Regions from separate parts of the Homo sapiens genome. Here regions 1 and 3 are each linked to region 2. The links are contacts of gene promoters, found by promoter capture Hi-C in blood cells and fetal thymus (Javierre and others, 2016). All regions are on one chromosome and are shown on one strand. The core of a region is centred on a gene start or on the middle of the fragment in contact, and the rest is flanking DNA. Distances in the headings are between cores, read along the strand shown. Region 1 overlaps RERE (arginine-glutamic acid dipeptide repeats). Region 2 holds the start of SLC45A1 (solute carrier family 45 member 1). Region 3 has its middle 30 kb from the start of ERRFI1.

Region 1 (4,286 bases), core at 1,291-3,790, 440 kb before region 2:
ACATGTGGGGGAGGTGTGAAGCATAGGTAATTTGCATTACACCTGTGCCATTAAAAAATTGGGAACACAGGAGGACAAACTGATTTGAGGAAGAAGATGCTAATAAATACAGCTTTTTATTGAGATGAGTGATTTTTGTCATTAGGCAGATGGAAATATTTAATATCTTGAGAAGTCATCAAGGTTAAGATGGAGATACTGAGAATGGGGTAGTTGAAGCCCCGAGGTGGAATAAAATTGCCAAAGGATTTAGTGTCAGATGTATCTTTTCCAAGTTTGTCACATTGCAAAACCTGAAAATCCTCCAGTTTTAGGACAGGATTGCTCTGGTGTTGTTTAAAGAACTCAGATTCTTCCTTTGAGTTTTTATTTCTCTTTGAGGTTCTTTCATTTTGATTCTCATTTTGGTAAGACGGTAAAGCATAATGGTTCCGAGTCTGAGCTTGAGAACAGAAGGATTGGGTTTGAATCCTTGTTCTGCCACCTCTCTGTCCTGTAATCCTGTTAGAGTTATGGAACGTCTTTGTGCCTCCATTTCCTTGTCTATATAATGGAGCTGATAATAGCTAAATGATAGGGTTGTTTATACATTAGTGGGATAATGTATGAAAATAATTTAGCCTGGCACATGGAACATAAGAAGTGCTCCATAAATGGTAGCTAATGTTGCCCTGAGAGTCTTGCTGGCTCCACTGCTTCTAATCCTAGAGTGTAGAGCTTCTCTTTTTAAATATAAAATTGTACAAAGTGTTTTGTTTTCATTTAGCATAACTGACACTGGCTGGATTTTCAAAGAATTTAACTTAGTATTAATATTAGTATTCCAAGGGAATAATTATAGTAAATATATTAAGAAACCATCCTGGGTGACAGAGCGAGACCCTATCTTCAAAACACAACAAAAATCCATGGAAATGGGCTTAAAATATCAAAAGCCTGTCCAAATTCAGTTACCTGTTCTTGGGCTTCCTGCTACCCTCCCTGTGACCTCTCACCCTTCACACCAAGGAACTGTGTCTCTCACACCTCTACCAGGTCCCTGCAGATACTTGCAACAAAGCTGTACTACTGACCCAGGACTCTTTCTTTTAATTCATCTCCGATTTTTGGCATCTTATCTAAGGCTGACTTTTGTGGACTGTGGTGATTGATATAAATGATGTATAAATGATTGTCTTAACTATTACAGGCCTAGGGGCTGGGCGCAGTGGCTTACGCCTCTAATCCCTGCACTTTGGGAGGCCGAGGCGGGCGGATCACCTGAGGTCAGGAGTTCAAGACCAGTCTGGCCAACATGATGAAACCCCGTCTCTACTGAAAATACAAAAAATTAGCTGGGCGCGGTGGCGGGCACCTGTAATCCCAGCTACTCAGGAGGCTGAGGCAGGAGAATTGCTTGAACCCGGGAGGCAGAGGTTGCAGTGAGCTGAGATTACGCCACTGCACTCCAGCCTGGGCAACAAGAGTGAAACTCCATCTCAAAAAAACAAAACAAAACTAAACTAAACTAATGATAGGCCTAGGTCTATTTACTTGGGGAGAATTTATTTTGAATTATTTCTCAGATAAATCTTCCTTTTCCCATATAGGAAACTGACCTTAATTAGATTTATACAGTGTAATAGCTCTGATCATCAAGACATATTGTGTGTGTGTGTGTGTGTGTGTGTGTGTGTGTGTGTGTATAGAGAGAGTAAGAATTTAGAGTTATACGTATATTGGCAGGAAAATTGTCCCTCACATTTGAATTTTGTAGTGTTTTTCTTCATGTCTGTTGAACTTGTGTAGTGTTCTAAGTTCTTTATGGCTGTTTTGCAATTGAGCGTAGTGGGTGTACAGTTTCACACAACCTGCAGTTAGCAGAGCCACTTAGTTATTGGGATGGGAATGGCACCCATATCTCTTGAGATTTTGATTTTTTAAAAACTGTGCTAAACCGTATTCTCCAAAGGAGAGAAGAAAGAATTTTGCAGTTTTCGTTCTGTTTTTTCTTTTGGGAAGCGTCTACTTTGGAGAATTTAACCCTTTTCTAAAGTAACTGCAGTTGTCTTTTATTCCCCTTTTTGAAATACCTGTGACCTATAGTTTGATTGGACCAACAAAGGCCTCAGGTGCACTGGCTTGTTTCACTTGTGTGCTTCTGGCCTTTTTCTTTCTAATTCTTCATCCTTGCCTTTTGAAAGGATGATGCTCTTTTCCAAGTGACCTCTAGCAGATTCTGAGATGTAGTGTCCGATTTAGTAATTTTCTCATATAAAAGGATTCTACAGTTAATGTGTCAGAAGAGGTAATAGTTGACAGTAAAGTAGGAATTTTTCATTTTTCTAAAGGAAAAATATAACCTTTCAGTGACTTAATACCTCTTTCCTTTCTTTGACAATCACAGTATCTTTTTATTTTTATTTATTTTTTCAAGATGGAGTCTCACTGTGTTGCCCAGGCTGGTCTCCAACTCCTGGGCTTAAGCAATCCTCCGGCTTCAGCATCTGAGTAGTTGGGAAATATCTTTTTAGTTAGTACCTCAATGTTGAGGTGAGAGAATAATCCCATTTTTTAAATTGACAAAAATTGTACACATTTATTGTGTATACCATGATGGTTTGAAATATATATACATTGTGGAATGGCTAAAATGAGTATATGTATTACTTCACATTTTTTTTTTTTGTGGTGAGGACACTTAAATTCTTCTTTGCAATTTTCAGTAATATAATACATTATTATTAATTATAGTCACTATATTATAAAGCTGATCTCTTGAACTTATTCCTCCTCACTGAAATTTTATGTCCTTTGACTCACATTTCCCCAGTCCTCCTCTCAGCCTTTGGTAACCACCATTCTACTCTTTGCTTCTACTTCAGCTTCAAAAAAAAGGTTGATGAGGCAGGAGGACCCCTTGATCCTAGGAATTCGAGACCAGCTTGGCGAGACCTCGTCACTACAAAAAATAAAAATAAAAAGTTAGCTAGGTGTGGTGGCGCACACCTGTAGTCCCAGCTACTTAGGAGGCTGAGGCAGGAGGATTGCTTGCACCCAGGAATTTGAGGTTACAGTGAGTTATGATTGTGCCGCTGCACTCCAGCTTGGGCAACAGAGTGAAACCCCGTTTCTTTAAAAAAAAAAAAAAAAAAAGATTGAGGGCCAGGCACGGTGGCTCACACGTGTGTTCCCAGCACTTTGGGTGGCTGGGTGGGTGGATCAGGAGGTCAGGAGATCGAGACCAGCCTGGCCAACATGGTGAAACACCTCTACTAAAAAATACTAAAATTTGCCGGGCATGGTGGCGCAGGCCTGTAATCCCAGCTACTCGAGAGACTCAGGCAGGAGAATTGCTTGAACCTGGGAGGTGGAGGTTGCAGTGAGCTGGGATCATGCCACTGCACTCCAGCCTGGGTGACAGAGCGAGATTCTTTCTAAAAAAAAAAAAATTGAACTTGACGTTTTAGGATTCTGCATATACGTGGGATCATACAGTATCTGTCTTTCTATGTCTGACTTATTTCACTTAACATAGTATCCTCCAGGTTCATCCATATTGTTGCAAGTAACAGAATTTTCTTAGAACACATAGTATCCTATTGCATATATATGTGTGTGTGTGTGTGTGTATGTATGTGTGTGTGTGTGTATACATATGTATGTGACTTTATCCATTCATCTGTTGATGGACACTTAGGTTGATTCTGTGTATTGGCTGTTAGGAATACCATTTTGCGTCCTTATATGGATAGTAAATAAACATCTTTATGATGAGTGTTTTTGGTGAACAGACTTTGAATGTTTGGCTTTTTGGTTGAATTTAATACTTTAGAGTGAAAAAAGGCTGACTAGAATGAAAAAAGGCTGATGTTCAAATACATAATTTTAGTGAAGTAGTTTCTACCAGCTCTCTTAACTACAATGTTCTATCAGCTGTGGGAGGAGTTGAGAAAGACAGGAATACACAAACCAGCAACAACAGTGAGCTTATCTTGATTTTCTTCCCATTGTCTTACATTTGTTCCTCTGATAAGTTTATGGGAAATTATGTAAATTCTAGGTCTCTTTTGATGGAGCATCCTATTTAGTATTACATTAGTGATGCAGTAGAGAATTTGATTTTGGTAGCCCATGTGGTTCATTCATTTAGTCATGACTAGAGAATGAGGATTTCCAGGGTATTTCTTTTGTGTTAACTTTAGAAAAAATTGATTATTTAGTGAAAGAAATGGGGCAGTAATTTGCTAGGGAAAGTTCATACAGGACAGTGATTATTAGGAATGAATTTTATTTAACAGAAATAG
Region 2 (4,817 bases), core at 574-3,073:
AGACCAGCCTGGCCAACATGGAGAAACCCCGTCTCTACTAAAAATACAAAAAATTAGCTGGGCATGGTGGCGAGTGCCTGTAATCCCAGCTACTCCGGAGGCTGAGGCAGGAGAATCGCTTGAACCCAGGAGGTGGAGGTTGTAGCGAGCTGAGATCGCACCACTGCACTCCAGCCTGGGCAACAGAGTGAGACTCTTGTCTCAAAAAACAACAACAACAACAACAAAAATCCATTTTTAAGGTTCCCATAAAAATGGGTGAAAGTGGAATTTAAGATCATAAAATCTAATTTTCATGCACAAATACAAACATTCGCCAGACCATCTTTACTGTACCATATGACCATTTACTCGGTCAAAAGGAAATCCACTCATCTCCCTGGATCCCCCGAAGGCTATGCAAGGGGTCCACTGTGCTTCCAGAGTACAGAGGATGCTTAAAGTAACAGATTCCTCAAACTGTGTTGTGGGAAGTTTAAGCGGCAAATGATTAATAAAAGTAATCAATGTCAATGTAGTTTGAATGCTTACAATGATCCTACTACGAGCGGAAACCATTTCCTCATTTCTTTCTTCTCGTTATGAAAATGAGCTCCCCCCACGGGGTTGCCTTGGGCCACCTCCCTTCCTAGGGCGTATTTGCTTATTTGTTTATTTGAGACGGAGTCTCACTCTATCGCCCAGACTAGAGTGCAGTGGCATGATCTGGGTTCACTGCAACCTCCGCCTCCTGGGTTCAAGCGATTCTCCTGCCTCAGCTTCCCAAGTAGCTGGGATTACAGGCATGTGCCACCACGCCCGGCTAATTTTGTATTTTTAGTAGAGATGGGGTTTCACCATGTTGGCCAGGCTGGTCTTGAACTCCTGACCTCAGGTGATCCACCCGACTCAGCCTCCCAAAGTGCTGGGATTACAGGCATGAGCCACCGCGCCCGACCCCTCATGCTTCTTTCTACCCATTCTCAAAATTCTTCAGTGAGGTCCTCCAGGACCAGGAAGGTGCTCTACGGACTTGGGAGGGTGCACTTAATAGGCTAGTTACTGAATCGTGGCCGTTTCCCACTTTGCATCTCCGGCAGCTTGACCCCTACTCCAGGGCCAACTTTTCCCAAAAGCCCAGGCCAGGTGCAGCCTGAACGTGGCTTTCCTCCGCCCCTGACTCTGCTTCCCTGTAAGAGCTGAAAAACATGCACGGCTGTCACTCTAGAAATAATTAGAGAAGTTGCTGATTGTCGAGGGCAGAAGGAGCTGAACGGCTTCCACCTCAGCGCGTTCCCCTTGGTGCTGACTCGCTCGGGAAAGGGGAGTCCTCGGTGCCCTCGCTAAGTAACCCTGGGATGCTGAGGGGCGTTGCCAGGCCCCTGGTCAACAAGAGGGCTCAGCCCCACGCAAGAGGTGAGCCGGGAGCGGATGACACCTGCCCAGGTGACTAGGGACCAGGCCTCCGGCTCAAGGAGCGCATCAGGAGCTGGGGCCAAGGCCGGGGTCTCCTCCCCTTGCCAGCAAGGATGAGAGCACCTGCCATCTGGCCGGCACCCTCCCCTGGGCCCGAGGCTCCTGCCCTCGGAGGGGCGAGACGGGGGAGCTCCGTGGACTCTGCAATTCATGAGACTTCCACGAGGAACAAAGGTCTCCGTGCCGGCCTCGGGTCCCGGTCTCGGCGCCCTGACTACCCCGGGGCCCAGGGCGCGGCGCCCCGGCAGGCACGGAGCCAGAGAGCGGGCGGAGGGCGCGGAGGAGACGGTGGTACCTGTGGGTGGAGACGGCAGGCATCCCTGTCCCCGCTGGGCTGCTGCCTGCCCGGCCGCGGTCCCGGCTGCTGCAGCATCACCCGGGGCGGGGCGCTGACGTCACGGCCGCAGCCTCCGCATCCGCGCGGGGCCCGGAGCCTTAAAGCGGCGCCGCGTCTGGGGCCCCGCGGGCGGGAGGGGAGCCCGGTGTCCTCCTGGGCCCTTCCCGCGGGAGGCCCGTCCCGGTGCTTCGCGCACGACGGCGCGGTCTGCAGGATCTGCCAGGATCCCGGAGGAAAACGTCCCCCCGGCCTCACAGTTCTCACCGTTTTCTTCTGATTTTAAAAGAAATAAATACATTTTCGTGTCTTCATGTATAAATAGATACCCATGTGTTCGCGGATACGTGAATGCCGCAGTGCGTGTGCCAAGCCTGTGCCCATGTGCGCAGTGGGGCAGCCGGGCCTGCTGGAGGCGTCGCGACTCTGGGCCCGGAGCTGTCCAAGGCACTGGGGATGCCGCAAGAACAAGGCAAAGTTCCCGCCCCTGGGGGAACTTTGTAATGTAAGTAAATACATAAATACTTTATGTATTTATTATTTACTTCATTTTTTAAAATACAGAGAGGCAGGGCCTTGCTATGTTGCCCAGGCTGGTCTCGACTCCTGGGCTCAAGTGATCCTTCTGCCTCGGCCTCCCAAAGTACAGGTGTGAGCCACCGCACCCGGCTGCATGACATTTAAGAGAGAGACACACACACATTAAACAAGACATAAAATAAATGGTATGTCAGAAGATGGCAATGCCCTAGAGAAGGGGTTAGGGAGTGTGGGGCTGCAGAGGCGCTGGCCTTGCAGGTTTCTATCAGGTTGTTGGCGAGTCCTCACCTGGAAGGTGACACTAGAAGGAGGATTTGCGGAGCAGGCCGGGCACGGTGGCTCACACCTGTAATCCCTGCGCTCTGGGAGGCCGAGAGGGGCAGATCACCTGAGGTCTGGAGTTCGAGACCAGCCTGGCCAACATGGCAAAACCCCCATCTCTACTAAAAATATAAAAATTAGCCACACGTGGTGCTGGGTGCCTGTAATCTCAGCTACTCAGCTGAGGCAGGAGAATCGCTTGAACCTGGGAGGCAGGGGTTGCAGTGAGCTGAGATCGTGCCACTGCACTCCAGCCTGGGCCACAGAGTGAGACTCCATCTCAAAAAGAAAAGAAGGACCTGAGGAGCTAGGGGGGCCAGCCAGACTGACGTGTGGGGAAGGTCACGCCAGGCACTGGGAAGAGCAAGTGCAAAGGCCAGGGGCAGAAGTGAGCTGGGCTGAGTCCAATAATTACGGATGAAATAATTATGCAGCTGGTAGTGGAATAATAACCCCAGGGAAGCGCTGCAGAGTGGGGGCACGGGGCCCTGTGGAAGTTTACCGCGGCGGATTCCACCCCATTGGGAGGGTCGAGGGCTCCTCAAGGAGCCCTACCAGGCCAAGTAGAGAGAACAGCATGTCCCACACAGAGGGCTCAGAGAGCTCTGCACTGGCAGAGCTCCGGAGGGGAGAGGGCCTGGAGGCACACTGCAAAGGAAGTGGAGGGGGACAGGGATGCAGAGGCCTGGGAAGGAGGTGAGGGCTGGGGAGGTGGGACAGGCCCAGGTGTGGCCTCTTAGGCAGTTGCCAGTTTCTAAGAGCAAAGAGAAGCCTAGAAAGGTTTTATGTAGGGGAGTGGATGGCATGAATCCTATTCACAGTTAGCAAAGATCATAAAGCTCAGAGTGAAAACAGATTGGAGGGAACCAGGGGACCACATGGGCGTACCGGGTGGCACAGGTGGGAGAGTTGGGGGTGTTGGTAGAGGGAGAGAGGTGATGGACTGGCCGGGGACTTAGGACTCCATGATTGACTGAAGGTGGGGGGGTACAGGAACAGCGAGGGTGGTGCTAAGAAGTTTCTAGCTTGAGCGATGAGGGAAGAGAGTGGATTCATGGAGGCCAAAGCAGGTGTGTGCTGGAGTGAATGCCATAGGTTTGCTTTGGGATATGCTGAGCTTGAGGGCCTTCGCAGCCTCTAGGCCACCAGACACTTGGGTCTGGAGCTCAAAGATGCTCCTTTATGAGTCCCCTGCACATGGGAGCTAATTGCAGGTGAACTGTGGACCTCGCACTGCCAGGGAGAGGCGCAGGGCAGAGGGCCCCAGAGGACACCATGGGAATTTCAACAGATCCTGCCCAGGCTGAAGAGAAGGAGCCACTGGAGGGGGCTGGTTCTGGCTTCTTTTATCTCTATAACAGGGTAACAGCTTGAAAAAAATACCGATGTCCTTTTCTATTTTGCATGCAAGTGGCCTGCCATCAACTGATGAGCTTCAGCACCTCAGGGACTTAATGCAATAGAAGCTTACTTCCACATGAGGTTGGCAGAAGTGTGCCTGATGGGTGGGGACCTCTGTGAAGCCATTCAGGGATCCCGGTTGCCTCCATCTTGCTCTGCCCTGGTGCACTGAGGGAGGAGCCCAGGTGGTGCCTGCCCACGGGGCCAGGTGTGCAGGAGGCCCACGTTCCACTCGAATCCCATTGGCTAGGACCCTGCCACACAGCCACACCGGCCACACCCAACCCACAACAGGGCTGAGAGATGGGGCCCCTGTCCCCAGGAGAGGAGGAGATGGGGGTGGGGAGTTGCTGGCTTCAACTGCTTCTGTAACTTTTAGCTGCTTGCAGAGGGGAGAGAAGATGGGGAATGCTGAGAAAACTTAAAGATCATCTCGAGGTTCTGATGTTCACAACGGGATTTTGCAACAAGAGAAGAGGTTTGAAATCTAAGCATTGTTGAGAAAGAAAGGGATTTTGAAAATTCCTTTGACCTTTTTTAAACTTCCAAAGTGAGAACCTTCTAAGGCTAGAGCTTTTGCTTTTTAGCCCCTCCAAGTTCAGGGCAGAGAGCAGTGTTTCTCCCTGGGGGCAGACAAGATTTCTCCTGTCTCGACAATAGGTCTAGACTGGGGGCCAGAGTGGAAGGGGCTGACAGAACATGCAGGAAAGACAAGAGACGCTCGCCCTTCCGGTCCTGGGTGTGGGGGAAGGATGGCAGAGGGAGG
Region 3 (4,213 bases), core at 684-3,183, 320 kb after region 2:
AGACCAGCCTGGCCAACATGGGGAAAACCTGTCTCTACTAAAAATACAAAAATTAGCTAGGCAGTAGTGGTGCACACCTGTAATCCCAGCTACTTGGGGGACTGAAGCAGGAGAATCTCTTGAACCTGGGAGGCGGAGGTTGTGGTGAGCCGAGATCATACCACTGCACTCCAGTCTGGGTGACAGAGTGAGACCCTATCCCAAAAAAATTAAAAAAAAAAAAAAGAATTATGAACTAGACAGTGGATCTGAAAATATTACACAGAAAACAATATTATACAGAATACAGTACAAAAAAGTAAAGAAACTGAAAATATGAAAAAGAGGTTAAGAGATATGAAAGTGTCTTAGTTCATTTAGTGTTGCTATAAAAGATACCTGAGAATACCTGAGGCTGGGTAACTTATAAAGAAAAGAGGTTTATTTGGCTCACAGTTCTGTAGACTGTACAAGAAGCATGGTGCCAGCATCTGCTTCTGGTGAGGCCTCAAGCTGCTTCCACTCATGGCAGAAGGAGGGGCAGCTGGCCTTGTCACATGGCAAGGGAGGGAGCAAGAGGGAATGGAGGAGGTGCGAAACTCTTTTTAATAATCAGCTCTTGGCTGGGTGTGGTGGCTCATGCCTGTAATCCCAGCACTTTAGGAGGCCGAGGCAGGTGGATCACCTGACATCAGAAGTTTGAGACCAGCCTGGCCAACATGGTGAAACCCTGTCTCTACTAAAAATACAAAAATTAGCTGGGCATGGTGGCGTGCACCTGTAATCCCAGCTACTAGGGAGGCTGAGGCAGGAGAATCACTTGAATCCAGGAGGCAGAGGTTGCAGTGAGCTGAGATTGTGTCACTGCACTCCAGCCTGGGAAACAAAGCAAGACTCCATCTCAAAAAAAAAAAAAAAAAAAAAGAAAGAAAAAAAAAGAAAAAAGAATTGCGAACAGGTAGTGAAATAAATGGTTGTACATGAATGCTCATAGCAGTGGTATTCACAATAGCCAGAAGACAAAGCCAAATGTCTATCAGTGGATAAATGGATAAACAAAATGTGGTACATCCATACAATATTACTCCATTATGTTATATGATTCCATTTACATGAAACATCCATTATAGGTAAATCCATAGAGGTAGAAGGTCAAATAGGGTTTGTCAGAGGCTGTGGGAGAGAGGACTGGGGAGTGAGGATGACTTCTAATGAGCACCGGATCTACTCTGAGGGATGAAAGTATTACGGAGCTGGACAGCAGTGAGGACTGCACATTATGAATGTACTAAGTGCCCCTGAACAGTCTGCTTCAACATGGTTCATTCTGTTAGATGAATTTCAGCTCCGTTTTTAAAAACTTGACACCCAGGTGGATTTAGGGGAAATTTCCATGAAACATTCAAAGAATAGGTATTTCTTACCCTTCAGAAATATTTATATAGAAAAGCAGAAGAGGGATACTCCCGATATAGTTAGGATATTTGTCCCCACCCAAGTCTCATATTGAATTATCCCCAGTGTTGGAGGTGGGGCCTGGTGGGAGACGTTTGGGTCATGGGGACGGATCCTCCATGGCTTGGTGCAGTTTTCTTGGTAGTGAGTTCTCCCGAGATGTGGTTGTTGTCAAGTGTGTGTGGCATCTACTCCCCGACCCCCATCTCTTGCTCCTGCTCCCACCATGTGAGACTCCTGTTATCACTTCATCTTCCACCATGAGCAAAAGCTCCCTGAGGCCTCCCCAGAAGCCGAGCACATGCCAGGGCCATGCTTCCAGTACAGCCTGCAGAACCGTAAGCCAAATCAACCTCTTTCTTTATAAATTACCCAATCTCAGGTATTTCTTTATAGCAATGCAAGAATGGCCTAACATGCTCCCCAACTCAAGACACGACTTTAGGCCAGGGACGGTGGCTCATGCCTGTAATCCCAGCACTTTGGGAGGCCAAGGCAGGCGGATCACAAGGTCAGGAGATTGAGACCATCCTGGCAAACACAGTGAAACACTGTCTCTACTAAAAATACAGAAAATTAGCCGGGCGTGGTGGCGGGCACCTGTAGTCCCAGCTACTCCGGTAGGCTGAGGCAGGAGAATGGCACGAACCTGGGAGGCGGAGCTTGCAGTGAGCCGAGATTGCACCACTGCACTCAAGCCTGGGGAACAGAGTGAGACTCCATCTGAAAAAAAAAAAAAAAGATAGGACTTCAGCGTAACTGTGATTCCAAAACTGTACAAAGACAGTACAAGAAAGGAAAGTTTCAGTTCAACTTTACCCATGAGATGTAAAAACCCTTAAATTACATACTTATCAAATAGAACCTGGTAATGTATAAAAACATAATGACCACATTGGGTTTACTTCAGGCATGCAAGACTAGTTCATTAGAAAATCTACTGACATAAGGCTGGGCGCGGTGGCTCACACCTGTAATCCCAGCACTTTGGGAGGCCGAGGCGGGCAGATCACAAGGTCAGGAGATGGAGACCATCCTGGCTAACACGGTGAAACCCCGTCTCTACTAAAAATACAAAAAAATTAGCCAGGCGTGGTGGCGTGCACCTGTAGTCCCAGCTGCTGGGGAGGCTGAGGCAGGAGAATGGCATGAACCCGGGAGGCAGAGCTTGCAGTGAGCTGAGATCGCGCCACTGCACTCCAGCCTGGGCGACAGAGCGAGATTCTGTCTCAAAAAAAAAGAAAAAGAAAATCTACTGATATAATTCACCATGGTAATAGATTAAAGGAGAAAAGCCAGAAGATGTCACTGATGATGGAAAACCATTCAATAAATTTCAACATCTACTCATGACAAAAACTCTTAGCAAACCAAGAATGGAAAGCGTACTTTATTTATTTATTTATTTATTTATTTATTTATTGTATTATTATTATTATTTGAGACAGACTCTAGCTCTGTCACCCAGGCTGGAGGGCAGAAGAAAGGTCAGAGAGACTTGAAGGGGATCCGGACAGGCCACCACAGAATATGCGACTTTGACATAAAGATTATTTTGAGCTGAAGGCAATTGAGAATCAACAGATCCAGAAAGAGTTCTCTGCCCTCCCCCTTTTTGCCTAAAAGCAGGTCATAAATTTGATCACACCAGTGTACTCCAGCCTGCGTGACAGAGGAAGACCCTGTCTCTTAAAAAAGTAAATAAGTAAATAAAAGTATCTGTATTTCTATATACCAGCAACAATCAGAAAACAATTTAAAAAAGGAATTAACAATGAAAAAGAAAGGAAGGAAGGAGGGAAGGGAGGGAGGGAGGGAGGAAAGAAAGAAAAAGGAGAAAGAAGGAAAGAAGGAAGGAGGGAGGGAGGGAGGGAAGGAAGGAGAGAGAGAGAAAGAGAAAGGAAGAAAGAGAGAGAGAGAAAGAGAAAGAAAGAGAGAGAGAGAAAGAGAAAGAAAGAAAGAGAAAGAAGGAAAAGGAAAAAAAGAGAAAAAGAAAAGGAAAGGAAAGGGAGAGAGAGAAAGAAAAGGAAAGAGAGAAAAAGAAAGAAAGGGAGAGAGAAAGAAAGAAAAAGAAAGAAAAGAGAAAGAAAGAGAAGAGAGAAAGAAGAAAGAAAAAAAGACAGACCTAATAATACCAACAATAAATCCAAAAGATGTGTAAACGCTTAATGGGGAAATTACAAAACTTTATTGAAAAACATTAAAGTTGGCTTATGCGTGGGTCAACCATAGTGGCTCACGCCTGTAATCCCAGCACTTTGGGTGGCTGAGGCAAGTGGATCACTTGAGGCCAGGAATTCAAGACCAGCCTGGTCAACATGATGAAACCCCATCTCTATTAAAAATACAAAAGAATTAGCCAGGCATGGTGGCACATGCCTGTAATCCCAGTTACATGGGAGGCTGAGGTGGGATAATCGCTTGAACTCGGGAGGTGGAGGTTACAGTGAGCTGAGATCGCGCCATTGCACTCCAGTCTGGGAGACAGAGTGAGACTCTGTTTCAAAAAAAAAAAAAAACAAATCATATCAGCAGCAACAACAAAAACCCGATTCAAAACTGGGCAAAGTGCACACTTCAGTAGCACATATACTAAAAATGGAACAACACAGATTATTAGCATGGCCCCTGGAAAAAAAAATTTAATGGGCAAAGCACTTGAATAGACATATCTAAGATGTACAAATGGCCAATAAGCAGATGAAAAGATGCTCCACATCATTAGTCATTAGGAAAATGCAAACCAAAACCACAATGAGAATGACCATATGATTCAGCA

The links. Contacts are between HindIII fragments. The CHiCAGO score rates a contact against its expected background, and 5 or more counts as called.
Region 1: a fragment that was not itself captured here is called in contact with the fragment with the promoter of SLC45A1 in region 2 in 1 of 17 cell types (total B cells); the score reaches 5.2 in total B cells.
Region 3: a contact is called between a fragment that was not itself captured here and the fragment with the promoter of SLC45A1 in region 2, in 16 of 17 cell types (endothelial precursors, M2 macrophages, naive CD4 T cells and 13 more). The highest score is 30.8, in endothelial precursors.

What each region holds. Positions count from the first base shown.
Region 1 is chr1:8,757,237-8,761,522 of GRCh38, reverse strand. All of the region lies in intron 1 of RERE (arginine-glutamic acid dipeptide repeats), which reads left to right. Among named protein-coding and RNA genes, the nearest start is that of RERE, 58 kb to the left of the region's middle. The HindIII fragment of the contact is 6,872 bases long and covers 1-4,286 here.
Region 2 is chr1:8,315,120-8,319,936 of GRCh38, reverse strand. SLC45A1 (solute carrier family 45 member 1) reads right to left here and starts at 1,823. Exons shown (of 9, transcript NM_001080397.3): 1 at 1,751-1,823. RefSeq lists a silencer at 1,714-1,993. The HindIII fragment of the contact is 5,366 bases long and covers 1-4,118 here.
Region 3 is chr1:7,994,265-7,998,477 of GRCh38, reverse strand. No RefSeq gene overlaps it. Among named protein-coding and RNA genes, the nearest start is that of ERRFI1, 30 kb to the left of the region's middle. The HindIII fragment of the contact is 8,948 bases long and covers 1-4,213 here.